2 separate regions of the Homo sapiens genome follow, and region 1 is linked to region 2. Evidence: promoter capture Hi-C in 16 types of primary human blood cells and fetal thymus (Javierre and others, 2016). All regions are on one chromosome and are shown on one strand. The core of a region is centred on a gene start or on the middle of the fragment in contact, and the rest is flanking DNA. Distances in the headings are between cores, read along the strand shown.

Evidence for each region. The method cuts DNA at HindIII sites, captures the fragments that hold promoters and counts their contacts. A CHiCAGO score of 5 or more calls a contact.
Region 1: a fragment that was not itself captured here is called in contact with the fragment with the promoter of SLC35E3 in region 2 in 1 of 17 cell types (monocytes); the score reaches 5.4 in monocytes.

Annotation. Positions count from the first base shown.
Region 1 is chr12:69,576,023-69,583,654 of GRCh38, reverse strand. FRS2 (fibroblast growth factor receptor substrate 2) reads right to left here. Exons shown (of 9, transcript NM_001278356.2): 9 at 3,862-7,632. Among named protein-coding and RNA genes, the nearest start is that of MIR3913-2, 4.9 kb to the left of the region's middle. The HindIII fragment of the contact is 3,759 bases long and covers 1-3,495 here.
Region 2 is chr12:68,744,640-68,752,477 of GRCh38, reverse strand. SLC35E3 (solute carrier family 35 member E3) reads right to left here and starts at 6,302. Exons shown (of 5, transcript NM_018656.5): 1 at 5,699-6,302; 2 at 4,438-4,548; 3 at 288-446. The coding sequence starts at 6,100. NUP107 (nucleoporin 107) reads right to left here. Exons shown (of 28, transcript NM_020401.4): 28 at 6,669-7,838. RefSeq lists enhancers at 5,280-5,469, 5,830-5,939, 5,990-6,089, 5,939-6,629. The HindIII fragment of the contact is 13,773 bases long and covers 1-7,838 here.

The DNA of each region.
Region 1 (7,632 bases), core at 367-2,866, 840 kb before region 2:
TTCTTTCAGGAAATGTACTTTCCTAGGCAGATCCCAAATCGCATTCTGGAATGAGAAGATTCACAATAAAAAACTAAGATGCCTGCACAATATTGAAAAAGGTTGTTTTTATTGTGGGCAAAATTACATACCTGGAGATATTTATTATGTCCTCTGGTAGGCAAGCCTGAGACTGTGTGTGATGGGGAAACCAATGACTGCTCCCTGCTGGGCTTTGAATGTAGCCAGAGGCATTTGGATGGGGAGAAGGAGGCAGGCCCTGCCACCTTGTGGAACTGAGGCTAGAGGCAGCCAGGAAGAGACTCTATGATGGGACCCTTGGAAATGTGTCCTTTCTCCATTGCATCTTTTGACCCTTCCTTCTTTCCTACTTCCCCCTCCTTTGATGACACCTCTACACCTAGAGGCTAAACACTCAGCTTCTAGACCCAGACTATATGAGTTTGAATTTCAACCATTTTACGTACTAGCTTTGTAGTCTTGGGTGGGTTTCACAGGCTCTTTAAATCAGTTCATTGAAGGCCATTCAGAGCGTGATCAATGTGCTGGTTTACCAAAAACTGTCTCTTTTAGCTGTTTATACTTTTTTGTTGTTGTTGTTGTTGTTGAAACAGAGTTTCACTCTGTCGCTCGGGCTGGAGTGCAGTGGTATGATCTCAACTCACTGCAACCTCCGCCTCCCGGGTTCAAGCAATTCTCCTGCCTCAGCCTCCCAAATAGCTGGGACTACAGGCATGCACCACCACAGCTGGCTAATTTTTGTATTTTTAGTAGAGACAGGGTTTAACCATGTTGGCCAGGGTGGTCTCGAACTTCTGACCTCAAGCAATCTGCCCACCTCAGTCTCCCAAAGTGCTGGGATTACAGGCATGAGCCACCACACCTATATATATATTTTTTAATTGAGACAGGGTCTTACTCTGTCACCCAGGCAGGAGTGCAGTGGTGTGATCTCCACTCACTGCAACCTCTGCCTCCTGACTTCAAGCGATCCTCCGACCTGTCTCCCGAGTAGCTGGAAATACAGGCATGCGCCACCACACCAGCTAATTTTTTGTATTTTTGGTGGAGACGGGATTTTGCCATGTTTCTCAGGCTGGTCTTGAACTCCTGAATTCATGCGATCTGCCCACCTTGGCCTCCCAAAGTGCTGGAATTACAGGCAGAAGCCACTGTGCCCATCTATTTATACATTTTATCGTAATTTGTATTAGATAGGTTACAGGGCCTATGGAGATAGTGAGACCTTGGGAATCCATGTTTCTGTGATTAAACACGTTGTGTGACTTTCTCCTGGCTCATCTTCTGTCCTCTACTCTCAAGTCCCTTGGTCTTGGCTTCTCTTAGTTAACCCTTCCTCCTCCCTCAAAGTCTTTGTGACCCTCTCCTCTCTATGACCCTGTGTCCTCCTCTCTCTTCCCCTTGGTATAATTTGGCTTTCAGTGAATTGGCTTTTTGTTAACTGGTCAGCTTCCAGTTATATAATCTCTCTGTGCCTCAATTTCCCTTTGTGTAAAATGGAGATAATTATCACAGATTAAATAGCTTAGAACAGTGCCTGTTTAGCTTAGCTATTGTTATCATTATATCCCAAGTCTTCTAATAGGCTTTATAAATATAGTAGCCGAGGTTGGATATGCTTGGCATGTTATGGAAGTAGGAAAGCACTGTAGCATATCATTATTTGATGGCTAGAGGTGATTTGGGAGCAAGGGTAGATTCATTAACTGGAGTGAAATAACTGGCGAAGTGGCAAACAACCACCAGAACAGAGTTATGGGACTTGTCAACATTCCTCAGGAACAGTTAGAATACCTGGGGAAGGAAACCAAATAAAGGACCAGGAGTCCACAGTCACATTAAGTTGGGTCCACCCAGACACCTACTGTTTGGGTAGTAGGGAGAAGGTTAGAAGACTTGATATTTCTCCTGTTGCAGACCGTGATAGTTTGTACACAGGAATCAGTCTGTGGAGCACACTTAGAGGAGCACTTTAAAAAAAAAAAAAACAGGGTCTCATTATGTTGCCCAGGCTGGACCACAGTGGCAGGATCACAGTTCATTGCAGCCTCAACCTCCCAGGCTTAATCTATCCTCCTGCCTCAGTCTCTTGAGTAGCTGGGACTACAAGCACACACCACCACGCCAGTTGATTTTTGTATTTTTTCATAGAAACAGGTTTTCACCATGTTGCCCAGGCTGGTCTCAAACTTCTGGGCTGAAGTGATCCACCCTCCACAGCCTCCCAAAGTGCTGGGATTACGGGCATGAGCCACCATGCCCAGCCCCCAAATATATCTTAAATCTCAATGAACTGACACCATCAACCATCTCAGTCACCCAAACCAGATAACTGGGGGTCATCCTTGACCCCTCCATTTCTGTCATTCCCCTTATCAATCAGAGGTGTTAATTCTTCCTCCTTTAGGCCCTCTATTACATTGGTGGCCCTGAATAAACTACACTTTTGATGTTCATGCTTTTATATGAGCCACTGTAATTCAACAAAATACAACAGAATTGACATTGTGCCAGTTCTGGGCTTAGGCCTCAAGAAAGCCTAGCAGCATCTACTTTTGTGCTCTTGGGAACCCTAAGCTGCCATGTAAGAAGACCACATGAAGAAAGACCCAAGACTTCATGGAAGAAAACTAAGGAACACAGCTGAGAGCTTTAAGTTCCAGACATAACCTAGTGGAACTGGTCCAGCCAGCCCTCAGCTGCTTGAATCATACTAGCATAGGCACAAAGCATATGAGGAAGCCAGGCCTCCAGACATCATGTGAGATGAGCCATCTCTGCTGTGCCCTGCCCATCTCGATCTATAGCAACTTGAGACATTAAATGATTGCTGCTTTAAGCCACTAACTTTTAGGGTGGTTTGTTGCACAGCAGTAAACAATCTAAACAGTCCTTTAACAATGCCTTTGAATACGGATTTATCAGATCTGGCTCCATTTCTGAAAAAGCCTCTCAACCAGTCTCCCTGCTTTATTAAAATACCGTAGGGCCAGCTACTTGGGAGGCAGAGCCAGGAGAATGGCATGAACCTGGGAGGGGGAGCTTGCAGTGAGCCGAGATGGCGCCACTGCACTCCATCCAGCCTGGGCAACAGGGAGAGACTCCGTCTCAAAAAAAAAAAAAAAAAAAAAAAAAAAAATACTGCGCCCTTCACGTATCCATGTTGTCAGAGAAATCTTTCTAAACTATTATTTTTCTGGTGTTTAAAATCCTTCAAGTTCTCTCACCTAATTTAAACAAAAGCTCCTTAGGATTCTGTGATCTGTTTCTCATTTCTCCTTTCTTCTGTATCCCCCAACCCTGCCTTTGCTCTCCATGCGCTTAGTCATTTGGAACCTCTTGCAACCACTGAATGTCATGATCTTTCTATACCTCTGTGCCTTTGCACATGCTATCCCTTCTCCCTAAGACATCCTCTCTAAGCTACAAAGACTTTCAACAAACCACCTCAGGGATCACCCCCTCTAAGAAGCTTTGCTTGAAAACCTCCACCCCTAGGCTGAGTTGGATGCCCTTCCTTTGTGTGTGTCTTTATCATGCCAGTTACATCAATCACTTGTGGACATGTCCATCTCCTTCATTGTTTAAATAATTTCCATCTTGACCTGTACTCAACTAAGGCTTTGCAATGTCACTCAGTGGCTAAAAACAGGTTTGAAGTCCCAGAGCTGAGAACTACTATTTGGAATGATCACACAGCTAAAACTGTGAGAAAGCCTGTCATATAGTTACAATTTCATTTTGATATCTTCATTTTGAAAATGGAGGCAGTGATATGAGACTAGGAAAGAAAATGTCACAAAGTTTCAAGTAGTATGTGAAATATAAATACAATAAAACTTTTAAGTAGATATCCGACCAAACGTTTTATTGGGGTTTTATTGCAATCTACTTTCAGCAATAAGGGGAAAGTGAGCATGAAAAGAACTCCAATCAGACTTTATTCAATAAAGCAGCTTTTCATGAATGCTTCAGGTCAGTGTATGATCAGCTCAGCTTCCAGTATCAACTTGAGTACCTCATTATGGATATTTATGCTAGAATGACAACAGTAAGGCATTGCAAAATCCAAAGTCATCTAATATTAAACCATATTTTACATAATTTGTAGGACAGTATACTAATACTCTACAATAAATAAGGATTTAAAAATGTGTTGCTTAGCCCTTGAACTAAATTCAATTACTAGCTTATTCTAAGTACTCCAGTTAATAAACGTTTGATTGTAAAGAACTCTGACTTCTCCAAAGATAAAAAAAATTAGTTGTCATGACAAAAATTAAGCTTAAAAAGCACATTCACACTTGTCCTTAAAAGCAAGTTTACATCATATATGAGAAAACTTTTCATGCCTGATGACATGGCTTATATGGCAAAAAACAGTCATATGCAAAGGACAACTAGAGGGCAATCGTCCCATCCCCACTTCCTCCAAAAAGCCACACTCGGCCTCAGTGTAAAAGTTATATTTTATTGCCATGCTACAAAATGTATGAAGTTGGCACTGATAGGGAGAAATAGAGAACAAAGGGTGGGAAGGGATAGAGGGAAAATTATGTTGTTACATATACAACAAGGTTTTATTTTAATTAACAGTGGTTACGTTTTGCCAATATTAAAAATGCAAACCAAAATTTAAAATGCTGATCTGAAACAGCATTAAGATACAATGTATGCATAGTACAGTATCACTTATGTCTTTTTATTAGAGAAATATGGAATGTTTATAAAAGAAATTAACCATGGGGGTAAAATTCATATTTCATATACAATTTGGCAATGGTAGTCCCACTGTTGGACAATTTTTTATAAAAGAAAAAATTAAAAATCTAATAAGCTACCTTTATACAAAGTTGCTATATTTATGCCTTTACGTAGGAAAAAAACATTTATAATGCAAATTAGGACATACAATAGTCTTACAATATTATACAATGTAATGAAAATAAAACATAACACAAAGTTTGTCCTTTATAAAATGTATATTTTGCATTACTAATGCAAATGTGGCACACTGGTGACTACTGTACTACTTATACCAGTCTGTTTCCATGCTATAACTGTCCAATTGCCATAGAACTGCAATTATAATGATGCTACAAAAGAACTGTGTTATACCAAAAATGAGGAAGTAGGGATGGGGAACAGGGATGTAAAGAACAGGAAAGATAGATAGGGTGCTGGTTTGGGCAGAGTATACTGTGGTACGTCATAAAATATGTTAATTTTTCAAGCCAAAAACATTTTCTTTACATTCTGTAATTTCGTACCAATGCCTTTATTCAAATTTGGCAAACATCAAGGAAAAGGTAATTAGTACCATATACCTCACACATCAGAAATATGAATGAGATGCCAATACATCAGTTACTTGTGAATGATGTCTCTGATGGTATGTCTATTTCAAGAATATATGTATTTATACACACACACTACACATTGCACAAAACATTTGGGCATTATAGGTTAGGAATAGCACGGGGGAATTGGGAAGTACTTTTTCATCTGTTAAAACCTTTACCTTGAGGCAAAAATATGGCGGCACATTGTTGGGAAATTATGAAAACATAAGGCCCCTGTCCCATTTTTAATAGAACATTATTGAGGTACATTTTTATATGCTGTGCCACAGTTTTGGGGAGGGGGAGGAGATAAACACTAGCTTGACTTGTTCTATTTATAACATTGAACGCTGGAGAGGGTCAACATTAGTATCTATAAAAACAAAGATTGCTTGGCAAATTTTCCTAAGTCCCAGATATGATGTATTCTGGATATACTGAGAAGTGAAAAGCTTTTTGCTGAATCTTAAAGAGTAAAGTGCATATCTCATCACTCCACAGCAGCAGTAAATAAAAGGAAATATTTGCCAGTCTTCCTGGAGGGAGGGAAGGCACCATATTTTCATTTTTAGAAGAAGATGAAACTGGGAAATAAAACACACTAAGAAAAAACACAAGTAATACCAATATCAGTTTCCAACCCTAGCATGGGATAGATGCTGTTATGATTTGTATGGATAAAACAGTATTCTATTTGGAGGGAAAACATTAACAATGATTATATTTCCAAAACCAAAAAGAAGGATCACATGGTCTACCAACAGAATTATCTAAAATTAGATCTGCCTCAGAAAATCTGAGATATATGGCCACAATTATATGCTAATAAAATATCAATATTTCATTCTAAAATGCACCTAGTAATAGGTACATCCTTCGAGGACACAGCTTAATGCCCATTACTAAACTACTGCAAAGGACAAGTAGTATTCTAAATTACCTTTTATTAAATAGGAACACAAGTGATTTCTAGAAAATATCTAGAAATTAACACCAGTTGTATATATTTTCCTAATACTCTTATAGTACCTAAAATCAAATTCTTAGCAGACAAATTGGTCCCATTTTCCTTTTTAAAGCACATAGTATTTAAAGCATAAACTGTAATGATTATATTGGAGTTATCTAAAAAAAATAAAAACTAATTAGAATCCGGGGGAAACAATGAAAAGGATGACGGAAAGAAAGAATAAAGTACCCAACCTCCAAAATGAATAAATAGATCAGCCCTTGCATTTGGAGATTAATGTTCTGCCTTGACTGGCTGTTTCAGAAAAAAATGTGCAATGGTTCCATCATAATTCTTATTCCACATTACAAAAACTATTACATAAATTTGGCACAATTAGCAATTTACTCAGAAGAAAGGATAAGTGGAACAATATATTAAAAATGGAACCTGCATCATGGAAACTGCACACCTATACCACTGCTCTCTTTTAAGAGAACAGTGAGCACTTTAATAAGCACCAAGTTCACAGGGGAACAAAAGGGAGAAAAGAAAATTCTGCTATGCACATAGAATGATAAAATACACTGATATTGATTTATAGTAAAGACACTAAAAATGGCACTAAAACGATAAAGACACCTTTAATAATTTATTTTCTTTATAATGATCCCACTCTATTGTTCTCCTAATCCATCATTGTCCTATGATTCGGTTACTGAATAGGTTGGATGCCAATATGACTAAAACTTTTTCATGCTAAATTAACCTTAGTTATATCTGGTAGATCCAGATCATAATCTCAAACTTCCTCATATTTAGAGAAAATAGTAAAATATTTTGCAAGGTTACCTAACCTTTTCCACTCTACCTTCTCTCGTATTCTCTAGTGTTTAGGAAATTGGAACATCTTTGATTTTCCAAGAGTTTGACATATGGAGACTCTTCAGTTTATATAAACTTTAATTCATTTTAAATCCTAAATTATGATACAATCTCACTGCTACAAGACTTCCACTGTACCTGCTATGCTGGCAACAATATTAATATTTCATGGAAATCGAAGGATAATCAAAGATCCAGCTACAAGTAAAAGGACAGCAGAGCTGAGGAACACTAGAGTGGGCAGAGTACAACTGCAGCGTGTAGCTGGGGGAATTACTGCTAAAGTGCTGGGGAAGAGTGCCCACAGAGACAACACGGTACACCTTGAGGGAACTTTGCATGTTAAAAGTAGCTTCCTTTTTTTCTCAGTTTGCTAAAGAGATCACCTATGGACACAAGCAAATTTAGAATTGGAGAATGTTTTTATCAACTTGA
Region 2 (7,838 bases), core at 5,053-7,552:
GGCTCTAGCTTGACATGGTCAGAACAGTAACCAGGCATCGGAAGACATTAATTGTAGTTCTGCTTTTGCCACTGAGTAGCTGCCTCACTCTAGGCAAGTCCCTTCACCTTTGTGTACCTCAATTTCTTCATCTGAAAAAGAATCCTTACCTTACCTCCTTTTATGGTGATTATGACGATAAATGTGAGAATGGATCGGACATAGTGCTCTGAAAACTAAAAATTACATTAATAATGGAGGAGTTATTATTATACTGTTTCTTAGATATCAAAACAATTAGAACTTACCAAAGCAGAAACTGACCAGGGACCAAATATTCCTCCTTCTCCAAACACTGGCTCAAAGAAGGGCACAGCAACCAGCAACATGGCAGATGACATCGGAGCCTGGTAGTACAGCAGCTGCATTGAGTTCACTTGTAATTCATGCTGTTTGGCTCCTACCCACTGAAAATTAGGAGATAAAACATGTCTGGCACAAAAGAAATAGTATCACATAATCAAAGATGCGACAACTAGAGTCACAAAGATGGGAATGTGGGGTATAGACTAGGGGAAGATAAAATGTCTAATTATTCTACAAGATTTCAAAGACCAGTAAGCTATATGAATGCCCTTTAAGCACCATGGATGAAAATAGCTCTATAAATTTAATTTCTGATAATCTAGCTTCTTCTCAATTCTTAGAAGGAGGAGAAAAGTCCTCTATTTCCTTCTACCTGATCCTAGTAAATAGGGAAAAATAAATGCATATAAGGGCCTACAAGGATAAAAGATCTTGGGAAAATAAGGGAGAAATAGAAATTCAGGTGATTAGGAATACAGATGCAGTGTTGGACTTCATTTCTTTCTAAAAATGGCAAAATTTAAAAAATGGAAGACCGGGGCCAGGAGCAGTGGCTGACACCTGTAATCCCAGTACTTTGGGAGGCCAAGGCAGGCAGATAACCTGAGGTCAGGAGTCCGAGACCAGCCTGGCCAACATGGTGAAACCCTATCTCTACTAAAAATACAATTAGCTGGGCGTGGTGGCGGGCGCCTGTGGTCCCAGCTACTCGGGACGCTGAGCAGGAGAATCGCTTGAACCAAGGAGGCGGAGGTTGCAGTGAGCTGAGATCGCGCCACTGCACTCCAGCCTCAGTGATAGAGTGAGACTCTGTCTAAAAAAAAAAAAAAACAAAGACAGAGGTTGGGGGGACACGATGACAATGGGGCATGGGGGCAGGTTAGAGATGGTTGCCAATGTGTGTGGCTTGAAAAGGTATGTGGTCTCGTCAGTTGCTTTGGAAAACCCAATCAATGGTAGAAGAGATTTTCCTCTCTCTGGATGACTTTTCTGTGGATACTATTCCTCATCCCCCACCAATACACCTAGATACACTGGATAATCACTAACCCTAAAATACCATACCATTCAGTAGAAACAACATCTCAAGACCTCAAATCCCATTCGTCCACAAAATACTTCACAAATATAACTGAAAAAAAGGCTTTGAAGAAGATTTAACAGGACTGTTTGGATCAGATCTGGCAAGAACAGCTAGGCTTTTGAATGACTTCTACATACTTCTTGTTCCTGTAGGTCTGGGTATCTTGTTACATAAACTCTAAGTCTATAGAAATCCATCAAGACAAAAATAGAAGAGCAGGGAATTTGAACCATACTCCTGCCAGCTTTAACTAAGAGTCCTCTGTGAATATGAAGGACAAAGAACTGATTCTTCTGCTGCCTGCTCCTTGGGGCACAGCAGCAAGCAAAAACGGATACAGAGGGTGTGTGCTCACCTGCCTTTCCTTTTGCAGCCTCTTCAGGCAGCCGCGTGTCTTCGCCACAGGACTGCCTGGAACAGCAGGGGCTCTCAGGCCTCCACTGTCCCTCAATGCAGCACAGCCTGGCTCCTGCCACCACCCCTCTAATGCTCTCCTAAGGGCACTATGATCTCCATGGACATGTCCAGACTCCCTGTGGCCCTTCCTGCGAGCCCTCTTTGCAGAACCTGCAAGTTTTGCTTGGAAGAACTACCCTCTGGTTTGTACTCCTCCCTCACTGCCTCCTGCACTTAACAGTTTTTAAGGCAGATGCCTGCCTTCCTCTTTCATCGCCCTGACTGATGTCTTTTACTATTTGCTGAGATCTACTGCTCTTCCCTCATCGCTTGAGCATCCTTAACCTTATATTGGCCAGTCTCCTGGCCATCTCTACTTATATAATCTGCAGGAACTTGTTTAAAATCAACTGGTGCCTTTTTTCTACAAATGGGCTCCTCTTGTGTGTTTCCAATAATTGATGATATAATCTCCCTCAGGGATCAGAGCCTTACTTTCCTCTCTCTCACATTCAGTCAGGTTCTCCTATGTTCCCCAAAACGCCCCTGGAGTGCCTTTTAACCTTTCCCTGTCCATTCCCACCGCCCTAGCCCAGGCCCTTCCTGCCTGTCCTGTGAAGTACAGGTAGGTTCCTGACTGCTCTGCCTTTTACCCTTCCTTCCCTCTTACCCACCCTTCATTGCCATCAGTTACTTTTCTAAAGACAGGGGAATGATCAAGTCAGTCCCTGTCTGAACTCCTCTCCTGGTGCGTGCTCAATAAAGATATACTTCCTTAGCATGGCTTCACGACCCTGACATCTGGTATCACCCACTCCTCAGCCTTGTCTTCTCACAATGCACCTACTGCCTAGCCTCACCAAACAAATCAAGTTCTCCAAAAATGCTCCAGACTTTCACACACACTGCAAGGAAAAGACCAGCTGTCCTTCCCTGCTGAGCTCATTTCTGTGTGCCCTTCAATTTAAATTGTTAACTTTTCCGTAAAGTCTTACCTCACCGCCCCTCTTTAAGAGCTGCCACTTCCTCCTTGGTGTTCCTCAGAATTTTCCTCCTACCTTGGGGTACATATGCTACTGTGACCAGCTGTCTCTTTGTGTTTCTACACTGCTGGACTGTAGCTGCTTTTCATCTTTGTATCCTCAAGGGTGAACATAATGCAGAAAAGATGTCTGCTGAACGAATGAATGAGTCAACCATCTTTCTACAACTCAAGCTAATAGCTGGTCACTTGTCTTTTAACTCCTTTTAATGTCTCCAGCAGTATAAGAGAAACAACATAGAAATTATCCCAAGATACTGTGGGCAGATACAACTTTCTTTAAGAGGAATGTTTTGGGAATATACCTATTTTGTAATGGTACCTTTACCACTTACTGATAAGAAACTGTCCATTAATCTACAATCATTCCTTGGTCAATCTCATGTCAAATATCTACCTTAGGGATATAGAATCCTTTGATTCTAATCTATAGCAATTTTGAGACTTGTGTGAACAAAAATGGTCATAGTGACAGAGATGGTGAGTACTCTGAATCTATTACGTATAAGGAGTACAATTACTTGCTCTGTTTAATAAATTGCCTATACTAGGCAAAAACAAGTGCATTTAACAAGAAAGATGAATAGGAATGTTCACTAGCCTCTTCTTTTATTTAAACTGCTTCTCTGCCACTAGAAAATGTATTTCACTGCAGAATATTTTCAAATACTGTCTCTGACATGATCACTACTAGAATGTTTAAGATGCCAGGGCTCTATTACTGAACTCCTAAAATTTCAAACAAGAATGCCTTAGTTTAATAACCAGTGGATGTTTGTGAAAAAAATAAAATTGGTTACACATTTTGGCTTTGATTCCCCATGCAGGCACACCCAGAATTTCCAGACCAAGGTTTTCAGTATAGAGAGAATACCGTTTCACTGTCCCCTACAGCAAGTTATTTTTTCTCCACTAAATAAGAATCAAAAACCATACTTGTTAGGATTTTATGGTAATGAAGTAAGTGAATCCATGAACATATTTTTAATGAATATCTGCTATAGGCAAGGCACTGCGCTTGCACAAATGGAAAAATATTCATTAATATAAATTACTCTATATTTATTAATATAGAGTATAATATTGTAATAATCTATATTAGACACATTATTAAAAGCCAATAAACAAGTTGTAACAGCAGTATAATTTTTGAGGCAAAAACATCTAAAAATCTGAAATTTTTCATTACTGTTCAGATTTCTGGAAGTATACTCACTCCTTCACAACAATGTTAAAAGTAAAGAGTAAACAGAAAACATAACAAACTTAGGAAGTAAAAAGTCTTACTAGGTATTTTGTAAAGATTTCCCAGAAAATAACTTCACCCCAAGCTGAGACTGTTAAGCATGGATATTATACACTTACAAACAGGTAGGTATTTGGTGAGCATCACACACCCAAGTTTCTCTGTCTCCTTTCTTCTCTTCACCTTGAGTCAGACAACTTATGCAATTATGCTTTCTTCCCAACAGTCTATTGTCTCTATACTGTATTTTCTAAACCTTGGAATACAGCTTCAAAATTTATGAAATCTGCTAAAAAGGCACATAAAGAAAAAAAAATTACCAACCACTTGATAAAGGGATGTAACTAAAACACCAAGAGCAGCAAACACCATTCCAAGGAAATTAAACTTCACATCGTAATAAGAATTTAGGATTACACCTAAAGTTATAGGAATCTGTAACGAAAAAGAGGTAAATGTTGTTCAGATTAAATTCAAGAGACAAAAATTTAGTATTCCTTTCACAATGTCTTACAAGGCTAATGATAAACACATAACTGGGAAACAATGAACCTGTATAAATGTTTTCTGTTTTGACTTGGGAAAACTAGTTGTTAATCCTATTTCCTAAACGTGAAATATGACAAATCTATATTGATATTCACATTTAATTCCATTCTAAATTTGTGGTAAATATATTGCACTTTGCAAGAAAATACCACATGAATACAAAGGTGAGTAAATGGATCCCCAAACTAGTGTCTAAACAGCATAAGCATAAATATAAAACAATAAAAGCATAAAGACCTTAAATATAAGGCCAGGCACGGTGGCTCACCACTGTAACCCCAGCGCTTTCGGAGGCCAAGGCGGGCAGATCACCTGAGGTCAGAGTTCGAGACCAGCCTGATTAACATGGAGAAACCCCGTCTTTACTAAAAATACAAAATTAGCCGGGCGTGGTGGCGCATGCCTGTAATCCCAGCTACTCGGGAGGCTGAGGCAGGAGAATCGCTTAAACCCGGGAGGCGGAGGTTGCGGTGAGCCGAGATCGTGCCATTGCACTCCAGCCTGGGCAACAAGAGTGAAATTCCGTCTCAAAAAGAAAAAAAAAAAAAAGAAAAAGACCTTAAATAAGTTACTAAGTGCTAAAATTGAGTCCACCTCCTTTTATTTAAAGATGCAGACAGCTCTAAAGTATGGTGCTGCAGACGTTTTGAGACCTACTTTATGCTACATCTTTTCACGTTTTATCATACACGATTTGATTCCCCTGGGGGAGAAAGGCTGTTTTTGTTTGAGCTTTTGCAGATATTCTGATAACACTGGACTGTACCACCCAATACAGCTTTTTTTCTTATCGATCACAGCATTTAACGATTTCCATCAAATGGCAGCTACTAAAATTCACACATGCCCACTCTTCTGGGCTGACAAGATGGCCTTTTCCCCCTCCCTAAAATAAGCCTAAAAGTTCACATGCCCACAGATGACTCATTTGTGGATTTCAAGATGAAGGGAAAGACCAGTGTGCGTTCGAATTTCCCGGGGCCAGTGCAGGAGGTGGGTCGGGAGAGCGGCGCCTTGGGAAGCTGAAGCTACTCACCAGCGTGAGCTGGATTCTGGTGGAGAAGGTTTTCTGGTAGCAGAAGGTCTGGATGGCTATGATCACCGGCGTGGTCATGGCCTTGGCCAGCTGATAGGTGCCTATGGTGTTGTTCTGCAGAGAAAGGTTAGTGAAGACCACAAAGCCACAGAAGCTGAGGGCCAGGAGGAGGAGCCTGGAGGGCGGCAGACTTTTGGGGGCAAAGATGTCCAGCTTCTGGCAGATATACAAGCCCAGCCAGGTGACCACGAAGTGCACCAGGGTCAGGCTCATGTTGGGGAAGCCGTGGTACACATAAATCCATTTGTTGAGGAACACAATGCAGATGGACACCAGCAGGTTGAACAGGAGCCCGGCGGCGATTCGCCAGTGGCCCCGCACTCGGTCCACCAGCAATGCCATGATCCCCGCGAAGCTGGGGCCGTCTAGCCTCGGAAGGGGCGCCGGGCCTGTCTCCGGCTGCCCTTCTACTCCACCGCCGCGTCCTCGCAGACGCCGACCTCACCGTCTGACCCAGGAGTGGCATGCACAGATCAACCCCGGGCGAGTAGCACTCTTAACAGAGGACACACACCCCGCCGCCGCCCTGTAAGCCAGCTAGGACGCCGCAGCACGTCCCACGCCCCGCTCATCTCCGCCCGCAGCCACGTGACTCGGGGCTCCAGTGCTTCCGCCCCCGAGCCGCTGGCTGAACGGCCGCTACCCTGCGCAGGCGCGCTGAGCCTTGGGCGCGCGACGCTTGCGTCTTTGGGTCCTATCCTCTGGGTCCCCGACCCCCTTGGTCACCTAACGCCTACCTGACTGGACCAATCTAGGACCCCTTTCTTGATGTTTGTTTCCTGTGTGTCATTGACCCGATTTGCTAGACAACTTCTCTCTGGCTGTGCAGACACTGTTAGCCAATTTTACGTATTAAATGCTGAGCAAATTTAGTAGCCCTCGCCAGAGGGGGGAAAGAACTTATTGAAAGCATGTTTTTATTTTTTATTTTTGGAAAAAGACATTCAAAATTTACTTTCCAACAGACAGCATCATCGGGTATAACTACAAGGGTTTCTCCTTAGATCATACATTCACAAAGCATTATTAGCTCAACAGTGAGAAAATGTGTTCTCTAAAGATGTCCCCTTGACAATGTAAACGAGTGCTACTGTGTTCACTTACAACTCGAGAAAAAAACGTACAACCTGGCAAAACCGTATATATATACAGCTGTCTCTAGGGGTGCATACAAATATATATATATGTTTTGGATCAGGTCAGGTGCAATGACTAAGAGATAGAACTTTGAGTAACAGTCTTGATCGACAGTAAGGTCCTTCACACAGAAGTCAGGTTCTTCCTTTCTCCTTCCTCCTTAAGTCGATAAAGAAAGATTATATATTGTAGATATTACAGGTACAAAAGGAGATTTTTAAAAAAGGAATCACAAAAACATCTTGAATGTCCAGCTGTTCCTGCCAATACATCAATTCTTAGTTTTAAGACAGAGTCTAGGATTAATTCAGCAGTCATAAAATTAAAAAGAGAGACTGTGGTACAAAAAATTTAAAATAAATGAGGAAGTAGGGCATGGTGGCGTGGGCCTGTAGTCCCAGCTATTTGAGAGACTGACGTGGGAGGATTGCTTGAGCCCAGGAGTTGGAAGCCGGGATGGGCAACATAGTGAGACCCCCATCTCTAAATTAAATAAATAAATGAGGTAGGGAAATTAAAACTTTCACACCCAGGACATGCCTGTTCCAACTTTGTAGCCTTCATGCAATGCTCAAGGAAAAAGTCTTCATAATTCCTTGGCATAAGTCACACCAAGAAAAGTTTTTAAAACTTAGTATGCGAACCTGTGATAGGCAACACGCCCTTCCCTGAGTTTCCTCTCTAGAATGAAAACCCAGTTCTTCAAGAGTAGGCACTGAGGAACTAAATTAAGTTGCCTGAAATTTCCCACTCAGGTGCCCACCACTTCTGGTGTTCAGGAAGAGAGGCATTTGGGAATTGTGAGGAGCACATTGGCACTCTTGGGGCTCCAACTGAACTGTATTTAAATAAGCAGCAACACACACATTGACTCCCTAAGGACTCAAAGGAGTCCAATTGGCTGGGTGCAGTGGCTTATGCCTGTAATCCCAGCACTTTGAGA